2 separate regions of the Homo sapiens genome follow, and region 1 is linked to region 2. The links are contacts of gene promoters, found by promoter capture Hi-C in human tissues and cell types (Jung and others, 2019). All regions are on one chromosome and are shown on one strand. Each heading gives the region's core, a stretch centred on a gene start or on the middle of the fragment in contact. The rest is flanking DNA. Distances are from core to core; before and after follow the strand shown. Region 1 has its middle 5.4 kb from the start of SNORD141A. Region 2 holds the start of SLC2A6 (solute carrier family 2 member 6).

Region 1 (5,506 bases), core at 1,267-3,766, 460 kb after region 2:
TCTCACTCTTGTTGCCCAGGCTGGAATAAAATGGCGTGATCTCGGCTCACTGCAACCTCCACCTCCCGGGTTCAAGCGATTCTCCTGCCACAGCCTCCCGGGTAGCTGGGATTACAGGCATGTGCCACCACACCAGGCTAATTTTGTATTTTTAGTAGAGACGAGGTTTCACCATCTTAGTCAGGCTGATCTCAAACTCCCGACCTCGGGTGATCTGCCCGCCTCAGACTCCCAAAGTTCTGGGATTACAGGCATGAGCCACCGCGCCCAGCTTACCTTGTACTTTTGTGTTATGGAGATGGCTTCTTTCCTTAAACCTCATGAACCAATCTCTGCTAGCTTCCAACTTTTCTTCTGCAGCTTCCTCACCTTTCTCATCCTTCCTAGAATTAAAGAGAGTTAGGGCCTTGCTCTGCATTAGGTTTTGGCTTAAGGGAATGCTGTGGCTGGTTTGATCTTCTATCCGAAACACTCAAACCTTAGCCATATCAGCAATAAGACTTTTTTGATTTCTTATCATTTGTGTGTTCACTGGAGTAGCACTTTTAATTTATTTCAAGAACTTTTCCTTTGCATTCACACCTTGACTGTCTGGCACAAGAGGTCTAGCTTTGGGTCTGCCTTGGCTTTCAACCTGCCTTCCTCATGCCAACATTCCTCACTAATCATTCCTGGCTTTTGATTTAAAGGGAGAAACCTGGGACCCTTCCTTTCACTTGGACACTTAGAGCCCATTGTAGGGTCACTGATCAGTCTAAATTCAGTATTTTGGGTCTCAGGTGGGAGGGAAGCCTGTGGAAAGGGAGAGAGATGGGGAAATGGCCAGTCAGTGCAGCAGTCAGAACACACACAACAATTATTGATTAAGTTTGCTGTTATATGGGTGCAGTTTGAGGTACGCCAAAACAATTACCATAATAACATCCAAGATCACTGATCACAGATCACCATAACACATATAATAATGAAAACATTTGAAATATTGTGATACAGAGACATGAAGTGAACATACACTGTTAAGAAAATGAAGCCAATAGTCTTGCTGGACCCAGGGTTGCCACAAACCTTCAATTTGTTAAAAAAAAAAAAAAAAAAAAAAAAAAACAGGCTGGGTGCAGTGGCTCACGCCTGTAATCCCAGCACTTTGGGAGGCCGAGGCAGGCAGATCACCTGAGGTCAGGAGTTCAAGACCAGCCTGGCCAACAAAAATTAGCCAGGCATGGTGGTGCACACCTGTAATCCCAGCTACTCAGGTGGCTGAGGCAGGAGAATCACTTGAACCCAGGAGGCGGAAGTTGCAGTGAGCCGAGATTGTGCCATTGCACTCAAGCTTGGGCGAGAGAGGAAGACTCCATCTCAAAAAAAAAAAGAAAAAAGAAATATCTGAAAATTGCATAAAATAGAGCATTATAAAACCAGGTGTGCCTGTATAGTATATTCACCTTTAGAGGTCTTCCAGAGAGACTAGCCTGTAATTTTTCTTTCTTGTAAAGTCCTTGCCAGTTTTGTACAGCAAGGTTTATGTTAGCTTTATACAATAAATTGAAAAGTGTTCTCTCTTTTTCCATTCTCTTTGTGTAAATTTGTACATGACTTATCTTTCTTTTCTTTTTTTATTTTGTCTTTTTTAATTTTTGTTTTTGTACATGATTTCTTTTTTTAAATGTTGGGAATGGGAGGGAGGTTTGTGAGAAAGTCTTAAATTACAGATTCAGATCAAGGACTACTCAGATTTTCCATTTCTTATTGTGTCAGCTTTGGTAAGTTATGTTTTATTAGGGATTATTCAATTTCATCTAAATTTGCAAATCTATTGAGATAAAGTTATTCATAATATTCTCTTATGACCTTTTTATAGTACTCCATTGGGGTATAATTTATTTGTAGTAAAATGCACAAATCTGAAGTGTACACCTTCATGAATTTTTTGTTTGTTTGTTTTGAGACAGAGTTTTGCTCGGTCACCCAGGCTGGAGTGCAATAGTGCGATCTCAGCTCACTGCAACCTGTGCCTCCTGGGTTCAAGTGATTTTCCTGTCTCAGCCTCCTGAGTAGCTGGGACTACAGGCACACGCCACCATGCCTGGCTGATTTTTGTATTTTTAGTAGAGACAGGGTTTCACCATGTTGGCCAGGCTGGTCTCAAACTCCTGACCTCAGGTGATCTGCCCGCCTTGGCCTCCTAAAGTGCTGGGATTACAGGCATAAGACACTGCGCCTTGCCCTTCATGAATTTTTGCCTGTGAATTAATACATATACATGGGGCCATTTCCCAGATCAAGAAAAAAAACACTGCCATCATTCCAGAACATCTCATGCCTCTTTCCAGTCAATATGTCCATTGCTGTCAGACCCAACCACTGTTTGATTTCTCTCACCATATGTAACAGTTTGGCTGGAATTATACTCCATATCTGTTCTGTCTGGCTTCTTTTGTTCAACATAATGATTTTGAGATTCATTTATATGGTGTGTATCAAGAGTTGTTCTTTCATATTATTGGCCAGTATATTGTTGGATAAATGTGCTATGCCAACATTTGGTTCTTCATTGTCTTAGTTCAGGCTGCTATAATAAAACACCACAGACTGGGCAGCTTCAGTCACATTTACTTTTCATAGTTCTGGAGACTGGGAAGTGTAAGATCAGAGTGCTGGCAGATTCAGTGTCCATTGAGGGTGCTTTTCATGCTTTGCAAACAGCCATCTTCTCATTGTATCCTCATATGGCAGAGCAGAGAGAGGGGGCCAGCTCTCTCTGGTATCTTCTTATTTTTATTTATTTGTTTGTTTGTTTGTTTTGAGACAGGGTCTCCCCCTGTTGCCCAGGCCAGAGTGCAGTGGCGCGATATCAGCTCACTGCCACTCCGCCTCTCTGGTATCTTCTTATAACAACACTCATCTCATCATGAGGGCTCCAGCCTCATGACCTAATCGCCTTCTAAGCCCCACCTTCTACTATCATCCTATTGGGAGTTAGGGTTTTAACATATGAATTTTGGAGGGATGTAAACATGCAGTCCATAACATCCATTCTCCTACTGATGGCCATTTGGTGGTGTAGCGGATTGCATTTCCCAGCAGTGGCTGCCCAATGAATATCCCATTCCCCATGGTCTTCCTACAATGTGATGTCCAACAATCCTCCATTTTGAGGTGGTGGTCTATATTCCCTCCCCTGGAACCTGGGTGAACCTTTGCAATTGCCTCAGCCAATAGAAAGTGGCAGAAAGGATGCTGCAGAACTTTCAAGGCTGGATCATAAAAGGCAACATGGCCTCTCTTGGGATGCTTGCCCTTGGAACCCAGCCACCATTTCGTGAGAAAACCTAGGCCACACGGAGAGACCAAGTGTTCCAGATGACAGCCACAGCCAGTCTCCCAAGCCAAGGGCCAACATCCAATGCCAGACATGTGAATGAAAGGACATTCAGATGCTTCCAACTGCCAGCCTTTGAGTCTTGTAGCTGAGGTCTCAGACACTACAGAGGAGAAAGAAGCTATTGCCTCTGTGCTCTGTCTGATTATCTGATCTATAGAAACCATGAGAGAGAATAAATACTCACTATTGCTTCAAGCCACTCTATTTTGGGGATAAGTTGTAACGCAGCCTGTGTAACCAGATTACGCGGTTTCTAGTTTTCCACCATTACAAATACAGCTGTGATGAACATTCCTGTACAAGTCATGTCTATGGATATGAATGTTCATCTTGGCTAGACACCTGGGCATGGAACGGCTAAGTCACATGGAGAGTGTGTGCTGAACTGTATAAGAAACTGATGACCTCTTTTCTTTAGCAGTTGTACCATTTTACATTCATCCCAACAGTGTTTGAGACTTCCAGTTGCTCCACATCTTCAACAACACTTAGTATTATGTTAGCTGTACTAATAGGTTGCAGTCATATCTCATTGTGTCTTAAATTTACATTTTTCCCTGACTAATGATGTTATTGAGCATCTTTTAACATGCTTTTTGGCCATTTAAATAACTCGTTTTGTGAAATGTCTGTTCAAAGCTTTTTGCTTTCTTAAATTTAAGACAGGGTCTCACTCTGCTGCCCAGGCTGGATTGCAGTGGTGCGATCACGACTCACAGCAGCCTCAGCCTCCACCTCCTGGGCTCAAGCAGTCCTCTGGCTTCAGTCTCTCAAGTAGCTGGGACCACAGGCATGCAGCACCACACCCAGATAATTCAAATTTTTTTTCTAGAGATAGGGTCTTGCCATGTTGCCCAGGCTGGTCTCAAACTCCTGGCTTCAAGGTATTCTCCTGCCTCAGCCTTCCAAAGTGGTTTTTGCTTTTTTTGTGAGACTGAGTCTCACTCTGTCGCCCAGGCTAGAGTGCAATGGCTTGATCTCGGCTCACTGCAACCTCCTCCTCCTAAGTTCAGGCAATTCTCCTGCCTCAGCCTCCCGAGTAGCTAGGATTACAGGCACCCAACACCACGCTCGACTAATTTTTGTATTTTTAGTAGAGATGGGTTTTCACCATGTTGGCCAGGCTGGTCTCAAACTCCTGACCTCAAGTGATCCACCTGCCTCAGCCTCCCAAAGTGCTGGGATTACAGGCGTGAGCCACTGGGTCTGGCCAGTTTTTGCCTATTTTTAAATCAAGTTAGTTTTAGTAAAATAAAGTTTATTGTATTTTAATTTAGGAGTTCTTTATATATTCTAGATTTAAGTCCTCTGTCGGTGATATGGAGTGGGAAAGTTTTCTCAGAACATGGCTTGGCTGTTCACATTCTTAATGCTGCCTGCTGATGAGTAGAAGTTGTTAGCTTTGACATGGCTAAAACACACTTAAGAATATGTTTAGCTTAAACATATATTTTTTCTTTTATGCTTTATGGTTCCTTTTATGTTGTACTAAAAATATTTTCCAATCTCTAAATTCATAAAGATAGTCGACATTTTCTTCTAGAAGCTTTATAGTTTTAGTTCATTCTTAGTTTTTTCATTGTTATGGTGGAGAATTTGTCTTTCGCAATTTTCAATATCCTCATTCTCTCTCTTTCTCTGTCTTCTCTTCAGTTGAAAATAAAGAGAAATCCACTGTGATTTTTGATTATTATTACTATTTTTTAATTTTTTTTATTTTTTTGAGATAGAGTCACACTCTGTTGCCCAGGCTGGAGTGCAGTGGTGTGATCCCAGCTCACTGAAACCTCTATCTCCCGGGTTCAAGTGATTCTCGTGCCTCAGCCTCCCGAGTAGCTGGGGCTACAGGTGTGTGCCACCATGCTCAGCTAATTTTTTGTGTATTTTTAGTATAGATGGGGTTTCACCGTTTCACCATGTTGCCCAGGCTGATTCTTGAACTCCTGAGCTCAGGCAATTCACCTGCCTCGGCCTCCCAAAGTGCTACGATTATAGGCGTGAGCCACTGGCATGCCCAGCCTGATTATTATTATTATTATCATGGAATTTTTTTTTTTTTTTTTTAATGAGACAGGGTCTCACTCTGTCACCCAGGCTGGAGTGCAGCGGTGCAGTCATGGCTCA
Region 2 (5,853 bases), core at 1,478-3,977:
AGAAGGCAGACAAAAAAACAGTGCTTCACATAGGTTCTCTTTATAAGACCACTGTAATCTATCGTCACAGGAAGCAGATTAATAGTTTACTGGGGAGGCCGGGCGCGGTGGCTCATGCCTGTAATCCCAGCCCTTTGGGAGGCCGAGGCCGGCAGATCACGAGGTCAGGAGATCAAGACCATCCTGGCTAACATGGTGAAACCCCATCTCTACTAAAAATACAAAAAAATATTAGCCGGGCATGGTGGCGGGCACCTGTGGTCCCAGCTACTCAGGAGGCTGAGGCAGGAGAATGGCATGAACCTGGGAGGCGGAGCTTGCAGTGAGCCGAGATCGCACCACTGCACTCCAGCCTGGGGGACAGAGTGAAACTCCCTCTCAAAAAAAAAAATAGTTTACTGGGGAGCAGGGAAAGGAGGTTGACCTCAGAAAGGCACAAAGAAACCTTCTAGAAGGGTGGAAATGGGCTGGGCGTGATGACTCACGCCTGTAATCCCAGCACTTTGGGAGGCCAAGGCGGGAGGATCACCTGATGTTGGGAGTTTGAGACCAGCCTGGCCAACATGGTGAAACCCCATCTCTACCAAAAATGCAAAAACTACCCAGGTGTGGTGGCGGGCGCCTGTAATCCCAGCTACTCGGGAGGCTGAGGCAGGAGAATCGCTTGAACCCAGTGGTCGGAGGTTGCAGTGAGCCGAGATCGCACTACTGCACTCCAGCCTGGGCAACAGAGAGAGACTCTGTCTCAAAAAAAGATAAAAGAAAGAAAGAAAAGGTGGAAATGTTTTATATCTTGATTGGGGGTGTTTGGGGTTATACAATTGTCAAAACTCATCAACCTATATTTAAAATGGATTCATTTTACTGTATATAAATTATAGCTTAACAAAGTTGATTTTTCTTGTATTTTATTTTTTCAAGAAGGCTCTCCCTCTGTCACCCAGGCTGGAGTGCTGTGGTGTGATCACAGCTCACCGCAGCCTCAAACTCCTGGGCTCAAGCAATCTTCCCACCTCTGCCTTCCGAGTAGCTGGGGCCACAGGCACTTGCCATCACACCTGGACAACTTTTTTAGCTTTTTGTAGAGACAGGGTCACTTTGTTGCCCAGGCTGGTGTCAGACTCCTGGCATCAAGCAATTCTCCTACCTTGGCCTCCTAAATGCTGGGATTACAGGCACACACCACTGCACCTGGCCTAAAGTTGATTTTAAAAGAAAAAAAATACATTTTAAAAAAAGAGAAGGCCGGGTGCGGTGACTCACGCCTGTAATCCCAGCACTTTGTGAGGCTGAAGCGGAAGGATCACAAGGTCAGGAGTTCAAGACCAAGCTGGCCAACATGGTGAAACCCCGTCTCCACTAAAAATACAAAAATTAGCCGGGCGTGGTGGCACATGCCTGTAATCCCAGCTACTTGGGAGGCTGAGGCAGGAGAATCGCTTGAACTCGGGAGGTGGAAGTTGCAGTAAGCTGAGATCGTGCCACTGCACTCCAGCCTGGCCAACAGAGCGAGACTCCGTCTCAAAAAAAAAAAAAAAAATACACATATAGATATGTAAAAATACATACACATATATATGTATATACGTATATATATGGCCACGAGGACTGTGCAGCCTGATCACCATACCAGGGTGTGCCTGAGTCCAAAGCCTATGATCTTGATGGCAAGAAAACGGTGACGTAAAGGGGCTGCACAGTTTAATGGGGGCCCCAATAGCAAATATGCAAAATAGGCACATGAGGAAAAGACTGGAAGAGGCTAAAACGCCATCAAGGTCAGGCTGACGGGAGATGGATGTGATTTTATTGTTCTATTATGGTTGTATTTCAATCATAATAAAAGGGAATTCTAACTTTTAAAAATGCTTTACCATGTTAATAGCTAAAATGGGAAATGACCCAAATACTCAGCAACAAAGGCTCCGTTTAAAAGCGTGTGTGGCACGTCCATCCAACAGAGCAGGGCGTGATTCCGTCCTCTTCCCGAAAAGGCCCAAAGGGAGAGGTGGAACTGCTGTGGGATTTTTTGAGGACGGTCTTCCCGGGAATTTTCCATTTCTGCTTTTCTTATTTTTCAATGTTATCTTACTACCTGGGTTACGTGTCACGAGCTCAGGTTATTTCTACCACCAGAGCCTGGGGTGGAGGATACAGACCTCGCCCACTGGAGCTGCCCACAGCGCCTCGCCGGCCCCTCCTGCCTCCTTCGTCCCGCACATCCGCTGCTGCCCTGACACACCCCGATTCCCTGGTGCCAGGGAGAGCCAGGGCAGAGGTGGCCCTGAGACGCCACGCGACGGGGAGGGCTAGAGCGTAAGGAGGAGCGAGGTGCGCATTCGCTGTGACCCTGGCGCTCGGCTTCGCCTCTCTGGGCCTCGGTTTCCACCCCGCGGGAGCGAGTACGACAGGGGCTGCGCGCATTGCCGCAGTCACGCCTGCAAGAGCCGGGCCGGGTGAGCCGCTTCCGGCGCTCCGCGGGGGCCCCGGACGATCCAGCAGGGGCTCCGCCCTGGGACCCCCATCCTGTCTTGGGGCGTGACCTTCGGGGGCGCACGCGGTGCCGGCCGCGCCCGGGGAAGCCGGGTCCGCATCCGAGCATCAGGACAGCCTGCGGCCGCCCCATTGGCCGGCGTGTCTCTGCAGGGCCGTCCCACAGCCAATAGCGGCCAAGGGGCGGAGCCTGGCCGGTGCCCTCGGAGCTGCTGGCCCCGGGCGGCTGCTCCAGTCTGAGCGCCCTCCGCTCGCCCCGAGAGAGACCCGGCCATGCAGGAGCCGCTGCTGGGAGCCGAGGGCCCGGACTACGACACCTTCCCCGAGAAGCCGCCCCCGTCGCCAGGGGACAGGGCGCGGGTCGGGTGAGAGTCGCTAGGTTGGGGGCTGCGGGTGGGGCCTGGGGGTGGCCCTGGTTCCCTCCAGCCGGCGGCAGGCTCCCGCCCTGGGCCTCCCCTGACCTAGTCGCCACCGAGGGGCCATCTGGCTCCCTCCTGTCCCAGACACGCTACTCCTATTTAAGGAACTGGTCCCCCTAAGGGAAGGAACGATCCACGAGAGTACCGGGCCCAGCCCCCCACTGCCACAGACAGTGAGACTGAGGCCCCAGCGAGCAGGGGTTCTGCCTGAGGTCACACAGCAAGCCTCCAGCCGCCGCCCTGGGGGCAGAACCAGAGCCTCCTCTTCCGGAGAAAAGGCCCCAGCACCAGAGGCTCAGCCACTGCGGATGAGCTAACAATGGCCTGGGAATTTCCCAGGGGAGCTGGGGCTCAGGCCCTGGGAACGTGAATGGCCTTGGACCCAGGCCTCCCTAGCACTGCCCGCTGAGCCGGGCAGCCACTGGGTTCAGAAAAGGCAATGGTCCCTGGAGGAGGGACTCAGAGACCCTGGTCTTTTTGTCCGCCACCATCACCAGGACCCTGCAGAACAAAAGGGTGTTCCTGGCCACCTTCGCCGCAGTGCTCGGCAATTTCAGCTTTGGGTATGCCCTGGTCTACACATCCCCTGTCATCCCAGCCCTGGAGCGCTCCTTGGATCCTGACCTGCATCTGACCAAATCCCAGGCATCCTGGTTTGGGGTAAGGACCATCCTCTGGAGGAGGGTGGGTGCAGGAAGGAGGGACCTGCTGAGCCTTATCTCCAGCTAGGAACCTCCCAAATTCTCCACCTTGGGGGTCCCTCCAGGGCCCTGGTCCCCCCTCCCCCAGCCATCCAGGCCACTAGTGGGTGGGGTAAAGCTACAGGATTCCTCTGAAATGAGGAACTGAAAGCCAGTGGAGAGGGTGAGGGAAGGAGCAGGTGGGGAGGTGGCTGTCAGGGTCTATACTAGGTGGGGCTGAGGCTTCCCCGGGTCCCCACACCCACAGTTGGCTGGATGGGGGCAAGGGTATCAGGTGTCAGTGGGGAGAGGCACTGGCTGGGGCAAGGAGAGTCCGCAGGACAGATTGTGGGCTGATGGAGAGGAAGATCCCAGAGTCCCAGAGTCTAAAATTATAATCTTAATAGCCTCATATGTAGAGTTGTTAACATAGTAGTTAAGATAAAAATTCCCAAGGTTTACTGAGCACTTCCTATGTGCCAGGCATGTGTTGGGCACTGAACGTTCATTGATTCTCAGGGCCAACGCCACGAGGTAGAACTTGCGCTCTCCCCATAAGACAGCTGAAGAAACTGAGGTGCAGACAGGCTGGGCAATGTGCCCAGGTCCCACTACCAGTTAGCAGAGTCCAGAGGGGGTCCCAGTTGCTGCTGTACAGGGAACTTAAGAACCTCCAAATCTTAAAGCCCAGTACCTTCAAGTCACAGAATTCTCCTGTATTAAAATATTAGACATTTAAACATCAGGCTGGACAGAACCACTGTGGATATGTGGCGCAGCACCTCTTCCTTAGAGCAGAATTCCCCGTTTGGGCATCCCTAACAAATGGCTGTTCCTTGAAGACAGGAGGCTCCCTGTTTCAAGTGCTTGACTTGGCCAAGTGCTTGACCAGCTCCTGGGGTCGGCCTAGGGAAGAAGCTGTCCCTGGACTCTGATGAGATTGGGGTGCCAAGTGCCCAGACATATCTGCCCTGCACCCCCTTCCCCTGCAGTCCGTGTTCACCCTGGGAGCAGCGGCCGGAGGCCTGAGTGCCATGATCCTCAACGACCTCCTGGGCCGGAAGCTGAGCATCATGTTCTCAGCTGTGCCGTCGGCGGCCGGCTATGCGCTCATGGCGGGTGCGCACGGCCTCTGGATGCTGCTGCTCGGAAGGACGCTGACGGGCTTCGCCGGGGGGCTCACAGCTGCCTGCATCCCGGTAAGGCCAGGCCTTCCCACCCAGGCGCCCCAATGCCTCTGTATTGGTGCTGAGCCTCCATCTGACTAAGGCCTCCCAGCCTCCATGCCTTCTGGGCAATGAGAATTGTTTGCCTTCCCTGCGGATGCCCAGGGCGCCTCAGCTCACCCCCAGCAGGGCAGCTAATTTGGGGGAAATTGTCTCCAGGTCCCCAGCTGCCCCCACTCTGGACTTTCCAAGCCTTCTACCCCGTTTCTTGACCGGTCAGATGTATTACTCAATTGGAGAAAATCCGCATTGAGCAATGGGTAGGAGAGGGAAGTCCCTGCCCTACACCCTCCCCGGGACCTTCTTATCTTATGTGGTACTCCACACGGGGCCTGGTGGTGAGCCCAGCAGAGGAGACAAAACTCACTGGGAGGCATGGACTCACCTGCTCAGCCCTGAAGCCTGGGAGCCCTCGGGCCTCCTTCCCAGCGTCATGCTGCCCATTTCCGAGCTGCGTACTTCCACCCACGTCACAGTTAGGGAAACTGAGGACAGAGAGAGATCAGGCAGGCCGCCCAAGGTCTTGCAGTGAGTCATGACCAGGACTCAGCCCCACCAGAAAGCCTCCACTTCCCACTTTCCGGGGTTCACAGGGGCTGACTCTCCCATCTCGGCCGGGCCTAGGAACCAGTATTTTCAGCAAAACCTGGTGCGGCGGCTGTGTCTTGCAGGTGTACGTGTCTGAGATTGCTCCCCCAGGCGTTCGTGGGGCTCTGGGGGCCACACCCCAGCTCATGGCAGTGTTCGGATCCCTGTCCCTCTACGCCCTTGGCAAGTATGGCCCCGCACTCCTGTGTGCAGGCTGGTGGGAGGGGTGGGTGCCGCCAAGGTAGACGTGGGTGGAAAGGGAATGATTTGTCCCAGAACAGATCCTGGGCTGAGAGGCAAGAGATCTGGCATCCCGGCCCCACTCAGTCAGCACCTTGCTGGGCACCTCCAGGCAGGGCCTGCCCCTCTAGCCACAGGCCCAGTCTCTAGCTGGGGCAGCCAGGGCTTCTCCTGGACCCACAGTCGCCAGACTATCTTTTAACGGCA

What was found. The method cuts DNA at HindIII sites, captures the fragments that hold promoters and counts their contacts. A contact is called where the count stands out against the background at its distance.
Region 1: a contact is called between a fragment that was not itself captured here and the fragment with the promoter of SLC2A6 in region 2, in 1 of the 25 tissues and cell types used here (dorsolateral prefrontal cortex).

The regions. Positions count from the first base shown.
Region 1 is chr9:133,012,314-133,017,819 of GRCh38, reverse strand. No RefSeq gene overlaps it. Among named protein-coding and RNA genes, the nearest start is that of SNORD141A, 5.4 kb to the left of the region's middle. The HindIII fragment of the contact is 3,919 bases long and covers 557-4,475 here.
Region 2 is chr9:133,475,973-133,481,825 of GRCh38, reverse strand. It overlaps SLC2A6 (solute carrier family 2 member 6), which reads left to right and starts at 2,727. Exons shown (of 10, transcript NM_017585.4): 1 at 2,727-2,858; 2 at 3,410-3,572; 3 at 4,585-4,791; 4 at 5,490-5,589. The coding sequence starts at 2,767. RefSeq lists enhancers at 2,216-2,717, 3,138-3,197 and a silencer at 2,328-2,977. The HindIII fragment of the contact is 12,347 bases long and covers 1-5,853 here.